Regions from separate parts of the Homo sapiens genome. Here region 1 is linked to region 2. Evidence: promoter capture Hi-C in 16 types of primary human blood cells and fetal thymus (Javierre and others, 2016). All regions are on one chromosome and are shown on one strand. Each heading gives the region's core, a stretch centred on a gene start or on the middle of the fragment in contact. The rest is flanking DNA. Distances are from core to core; before and after follow the strand shown. Region 1 overlaps PCYT1A (phosphate cytidylyltransferase 1A, choline). Region 2 holds the start of TM4SF19 (transmembrane 4 L six family member 19).

What was found. Contacts are between HindIII fragments. The CHiCAGO score rates a contact against its expected background, and 5 or more counts as called.
Region 1: a fragment that was not itself captured here is called in contact with the fragment with the promoter of TM4SF19 in region 2 in 1 of 17 cell types (erythroblasts); the score reaches 5.3 in erythroblasts.

What each region holds. Positions count from the first base shown.
Region 1 is chr3:196,250,803-196,253,840 of GRCh38, reverse strand. The region is part of intron 3 of PCYT1A (phosphate cytidylyltransferase 1A, choline); the gene reads left to right. Among named protein-coding and RNA genes, the nearest start is that of PCYT1A, 35 kb to the left of the region's middle. The HindIII fragment of the contact is 1,188 bases long and covers 1,183-2,370 here.
Region 2 is chr3:196,336,838-196,339,638 of GRCh38, reverse strand. It overlaps TM4SF19 (transmembrane 4 L six family member 19), which reads left to right and starts at 1,251. Exons shown (of 5, transcript NM_138461.4): 1 at 1,251-1,375. TM4SF19-DYNLT2B (TM4SF19-DYNLT2B readthrough (NMD candidate)) reads left to right here and starts at 1,219. Exons shown (of 6, transcript NR_037950.1): 1 at 1,219-1,375. RefSeq lists a silencer at 947-1,118 and enhancers at 867-1,161, 528-1,727. The HindIII fragment of the contact is 5,119 bases long and covers 1-1,622 here.

The DNA.
Region 1 (3,038 bases), core at 527-3,026, 86 kb after region 2:
ATAGCCACTTGGTAAAAGAATGGCTAACGCTAGCTTTCTTCCCAGACTAGTTCAACAGTGACCCCTTCTGGCCGTTTGGTTAATATATCAGCCTGGGTTTGCCAAAGACTTGGGATGGAATGGTGGCCAGTTGAGATGTTGGTAGGCTGGGGAAGCACTGGAGAGAGCAAGAGGCGCATCTGGGATTGGTCTGAGAAAAGGTTCAGTGATCTACTTGGCCTAACATAGGATGATTAGCTGTGCTGCAAGCAGCCACTTGATCAACAGCATTCTGTGCTATTGCCACCATCCAGGCAATGTGTTTCTTGAGCAAAATTTCCCTGCTGTATGCTGTCTAGTAGCAAAGAAACAACAAAGTAGTCTTCATTTGTATATTCTATCCCTTGTGTTTCAGGATCGAATAGTGTGAGATCATAGCCCCTCTGGACTTGTTTAGGGAAAATGGAACTATGTTAGTTACTTCATGGACGTGACTTCTGGGATACTTCAATTTTTTTTTTTTTTGAGACAGAGTCTTGCTCTGTCTCGCAGGCTGGAGTGCAGTGGCGCGATCTCAGCTCACTGCAACCTCTGCCTCCTGGGTTCAAGAGATTCTCCTGCCTCAGCCTCCCGAGTAGCTGGGATTACAGGCGCCCACCACCATACCCAGCTAATTTTTGTATTTTTAGTAGACACAGGGTTTCACCATGTTGGCCAGGCTGGCCTCAACTGCTGACCTCAGGTGATCCACCTGCCTTGGCCTCCCAAAGTGCTGGGATTACAGGCGTGAGCCACTGTGCCCGGCCCAAAAATCTTTTTAATGTATTATTTTTTAATAGGCATAGAGCCAATGCAGTGATTTCTGGGACATAGAAGGGGGATTATATGCTCAAATTTTGTTTTATTTTGCTTTGTCTTATTAAAAATTATCTTTTTAAAAATATTTTTTTCTTCTTTTTTTTTAGTTGACACATGCTGGCAGTAAAAAATAATTTTAATAGAGATAGGGTTTCACTGTGTTGCCCAGGCTGGTCTCAGACTCCTGGGCTCAAGCAGTCCTCCTACCTTGGTCTCCCAAGGTGCTGGAATTACAGGTGTGAGCTACTGTACCCAGCCTGCTTTCTCTCATAGATGAGAAAACTGAGGCATAAGGAAGTTAAGGTTACAGAGGAAGAAAGCTGGTTGGAAAGCTTGGTCAAAGCTTGAGCTATGACCTTTCTGACTCTTAAATCCATTAATTAATTCTTAGTTTTTCATTGGATTGGTATATTTAATTTAAAATTTTTATTTCCTGTATTATAAAATCAATACAACCAGCCTGGGCTGGGCATGGTGGCTCACGCCCGTAATCCCAGAACTTCGGGAGGCCAAGGCGGGCAGATCACTTGAGGTCAGGAAATTGAGACCAGCCTGGCCAACATGGGATACGAATATAAAAATACAAAAATTATCCCGGCTTGGTGGCTTTCGCCTGTAATCCCAGTGACTTGGGAGGCTGAGGCAGGATAGTCACTTGAACCCAGGAGGCAGAGGTTGCAGTGAGCCTAGATCATGTCACCACACTCCAGCCTGGGCAACAGAGCAAGACTCCATCTCAAATAAATAAATAAATAAAAATACAACTAGCTTGGGCAACATGTGAAACCCCATCTGTACAAAAAATACAAAAATCAGCTGAGCGTAGTGGTGTGCGCTGTAGCCAGTGGGGCGTGGCGGTGTGCACTGTAGCCAGTGGGGCGTGGCGGGGTGCGCTGTAGTCTGCGGGGCGTGGCGGGGTGCGCTGTAGTCAGCGGGGCGTGGTGGTGTGCGCTGTAGTCCCAGCTTCTCGGGAGGCTGAGGCGGGAGGATCATTTGAGCCTGGGAGGTGGAGGTTTCAGTGATCTGAGACCATGCCACTGCACTCCAGCCAGGGTGACAGAGCCAGACCCTGTCTCAAAAAATCAAATCAAGTGAAATCAATACATTCCCACAGTTTAATATCCATAAAATACAAAAAGGGCATAAAGTAAAATGTCTCCCTCTCAAGACCTGTCTCACAGCCACCTGGTATCCCTATAACAGGCCACCAATATTACCCATTTCTGTGAATATCTAAGTAAATTGTTTATATATCCTCCCACCTTTTAGTGGGTGTATTATGCTATATTCAATCTTCCGTTGAAATGTAGGTCGTTTCCTGACTGTTGCTATTATAAACAGTACTGCAATGAATAACATCTATATTTACTGTGAGATAATTCCCAGAATTAGAAAAGCTGGGCCACAGCTATAAGCATTTGTCGTTTGTCTTTTGATAGATACGACCTAATTGCCCTTCTTGAAAGTTGCTGATACTCCTTTCAGCAGTGTATGATTTCTTGGTTTAAAATCTACTTATTTATGAGTAAAGCTTTTTGAAAACAAAAATTCATAAACCTCCTGAGAACTACTTTCCTTCTCCTTCATTCATTGCCCTGAAGACAGGAAGGAGATGTATCTGATCCTCAACCTCAGCATGGTGTATCTGATCCTCAGCCTCAGCATAGTGTATCTGGTCCTCAGCCTCAGCATAGTGTATCTGATCCTCAACCTCAGCATGGTGTATCTGGTCCTCAACCTCAGCATGGTGTATCTGGTCCTCAGCCTCAGCATGGTGTATCTGGTCCTCAGCCTCAGCATGGTGTATCTGGTCCTCAGCCTCAGCATGGTGTATGTGATCCTCAGCCTCAGCATGGTGTATCTGGTCCTCAGCCTCAGCATGGTGTATCTGATCCTCAGCCTCAGCATGGTGTATCTGGTCCTCAGCCTCAGCATGGTGTATCTGGTCCTCAGCCTCAGCATGGTGTATCTGGTCCTCAGCCTCAGCATGGTGTATCTGGTCCTCAGCCTCAGCATAGGGTATCTGGTCCTCAACCTCAGCATAGTGTATCTGATCCTCAGCATAGTGTATCTGGTCCTCAGCCTCAGCATGGTGTATCTGGTCCTCAGCCTCAGCATAGTGTATCTGATCCTCAACCTCAGCATGGTGTATCTGATCCTCAGCATAGTGTATCTGGTCCTCAACCTCAGCATAGTGTATC
Region 2 (2,801 bases), core at 2-2,501:
GCACTTTGGGAGGCGGAGGCGGGTGGATCGCCTGAGGTCGGGAGTTTGAGACCAGCCTGACCAACATGGAGAAACCGTGTTTCTACTAAAAATACAAAATTAGCCAGGCGTGGTGGCACGTGCCTGTAATCCCAGCTACTTGGGAGGCTGAGGCAGGAGAATTGCTTGAAGCCAGGAGGCAGAGGTTGCAGTGAGCTGAGATTGTGCCACTGCACTCCAGCCTGGGAACAAGAGTGAAACTCCGTCTCAAAAAAAAAAAAAAGAAAAGAAAAGATTTGTGCACTTTACTGTATATAATATCTAGATGTTTAAAATGCAATGGGAGCATAGAGAAAGAAGTACCTAACTCGGAGTAAAGAAATCCTGGCAGACTTCACTGGGAATGTTTGAACTGAATCTTGAATAGGAGCTTGTCCATAGAGGGTCACGGATCTCCCACACAGAGAGCACCACAAAATCCTCAGCAATTTGGTGAGAGTATGGTACAAGATGATAGTGGCCTGGGGCTTGAACAAGAGGCTGAGTGCGGTGGCTCACACCTGTAATCTCAGCACTTTGGGAGGCTGAGGCGAACACCTGAGGTCAGCAGTTCGAGACCAGCCTGGCCAAAATGGCAAAACCCCGTCTCTATTAAAAATACAAACATTAGCCGGGCATGGTGGCAGGTGCCTGTAATCCCAGCTACTCAGGAGGCTGAGGTGGGAGGATTGCTTGAGTGTGGGAGGCGGAGGTTGCAGTGAGCCGAGATCATGCCACTGCACTCCAGCCTGGGTGACAGAGTGAGACCCTGTCTCAAAAAAAAAAAAAAAAAAAAGTTAGACGTCTAGTACAGGAACCATGCAACACATCGAGTCAGCCAAGGGCAAGGTAAGGAGAGTGATGAGGAAAAAGGGGTGGCTGCCCTGCTCGGTGCTGTTCTGTCAAAGAGCCGAAATTCTTCGCGGGGTGGCAGATGAGGACAGGAACAGCTGGGGTGTGGCAAGTGTTGCTGCCTGGGGAGAGCGGAGGGTGAGGTGTTTCTCACGGGTGCATCCAGTGACTCATCAGGACAGCGGAGCTCATGAGGCCATGTCTCCCGTTTCCTGCCTTAGAATCACATGAAAATGAGCAGAGGGTGGGTCATCAGGACAGGGCTCTCCGGGGAGCGGAAGCGCCTTCAATGCAGGCCTGTGGGCAGGGGCGTGGGGGCGCGCACACACACACGCCTGGGTGACCTCTACGTATATACAGAGCCTCCCTGGCCCTCCTGGAAAGAGTCCTGGAAAGACAACCTTCAGGTCCAGCCCTGGAGCTGGAGGAGTGGAGCCCCACTCTGAAGACGCAGCCTTTCTCCAGGTTCTGTCTCTCCCATTCTGATTCTTGACACCAGATGCAGGTAAGCAGAGATGAAAGGGTGAGGTGACGGCCAGGGAACAGCCTAGCCTCACAGATGAGAGTGCACGCTTCCACTCCAGTGAGCCTGGCTCTGCAGCTTGGCGTCTGTGTGACTTTGCGCCATTCACTTACCTTCTCCTGTTGCCTCAGTCTGTCAACTTCTGGCCTTTGCACCTAGAATACTCTTCCTGCCTAGTATCTCATCGTCCATCAAGTTTGGGCATGGGCAGCCCTTCCTCCGGGAAGCTTCGTTTTGCTTCTGCCAGATAGGATTAGGTTCCTCCATGTGCTTCCATGACACCTTAAGTTGGATGCCCCTGCCTGGTACTTACTGTTACCAGCTGTGAATCCAGCGAGTCTGCAGCAAACTCAATCCTTGCCTTCTCGGGGGAGAGATTCGGCTGAGGGGCAGAAGTGGGTTTAAGGCAGAGGGAGAGGCTGAAGCAAGTTTGAGAGCAGGAGTGAAGGTTTATTAAAAAGTTTTTGAGCAGCAATGAAAGGAAGTAAAGTACACTTGGAAAAGGGCCAAGTGCGTGACTTGAGACACCCAAATGTGCTGTTAGACCCTTGACTTGGCGCCTGCCTGCCGCACAGGCACTTGGGAGGGGCCGCATGCGCAGTGTGTTTACTGAAGTCGTGCGCATGCTCACTTGAGGCGTTTTTCCCTTACCCGCGGAGCAGCACTAGAGGAAGGTCACACACACCAGCTAAACTCCACCATTTTGCTTCTTAGTGTAGATGCTTGAGCCCACTCGCCCAATTCCTGAGCTCTTACCAGGAAGCTGCTGATCACCAAGTTCAGGTATTTTCTATCTATTGGGAGACTGTCTTTCCCAACGCTGGCTGTGACCAATATTATTTTAGAAAGACAGTGTAACAACCGCCTGGCCATCACCTGATAGTCACCTGACATTACTGGGGTAGAGGCCCTCTCCCGCCCTGCTCATGTCTGCTCTATTTCTTACCACACTTGATTAGAATTACTTTTTGGCCAGCCTGACCCACATGGCGAAAACCCATCACTACTAAAAATACAAAATTAGCCGGGCGTGGTGCATGCCTGTAATTCCAGCTACTTGGGAGGCTGAGGCAGGAGAATAACTTGAACCCGAGAGGCGGAGGTTGCAGTGAGCCAAGAGCATGCCGCTGCACTCCAGCCTGGGCAACAAGAGCGAGACTGTGTCTCAAAAAAAAAAAAAAAAAAAAAAAAAAAGAATTGCTTTTTGCGTCAGCAGTGTCCCCACTAGACTTTAAGCTCCTCAAGGAAAGGGATTACATCTTTTTCATCGTTATATCCCTAGCCCCCCAAGTGTCTGTCAGGTAGTGATCACTTAATAAATATCCGACTGAAGGAAGAATGAAAGAAAAGCCTTGCTGGGTGGCGAGGGAGAGACACAGATGTAGAGAATGTGCGGTCTCTTCCTCCA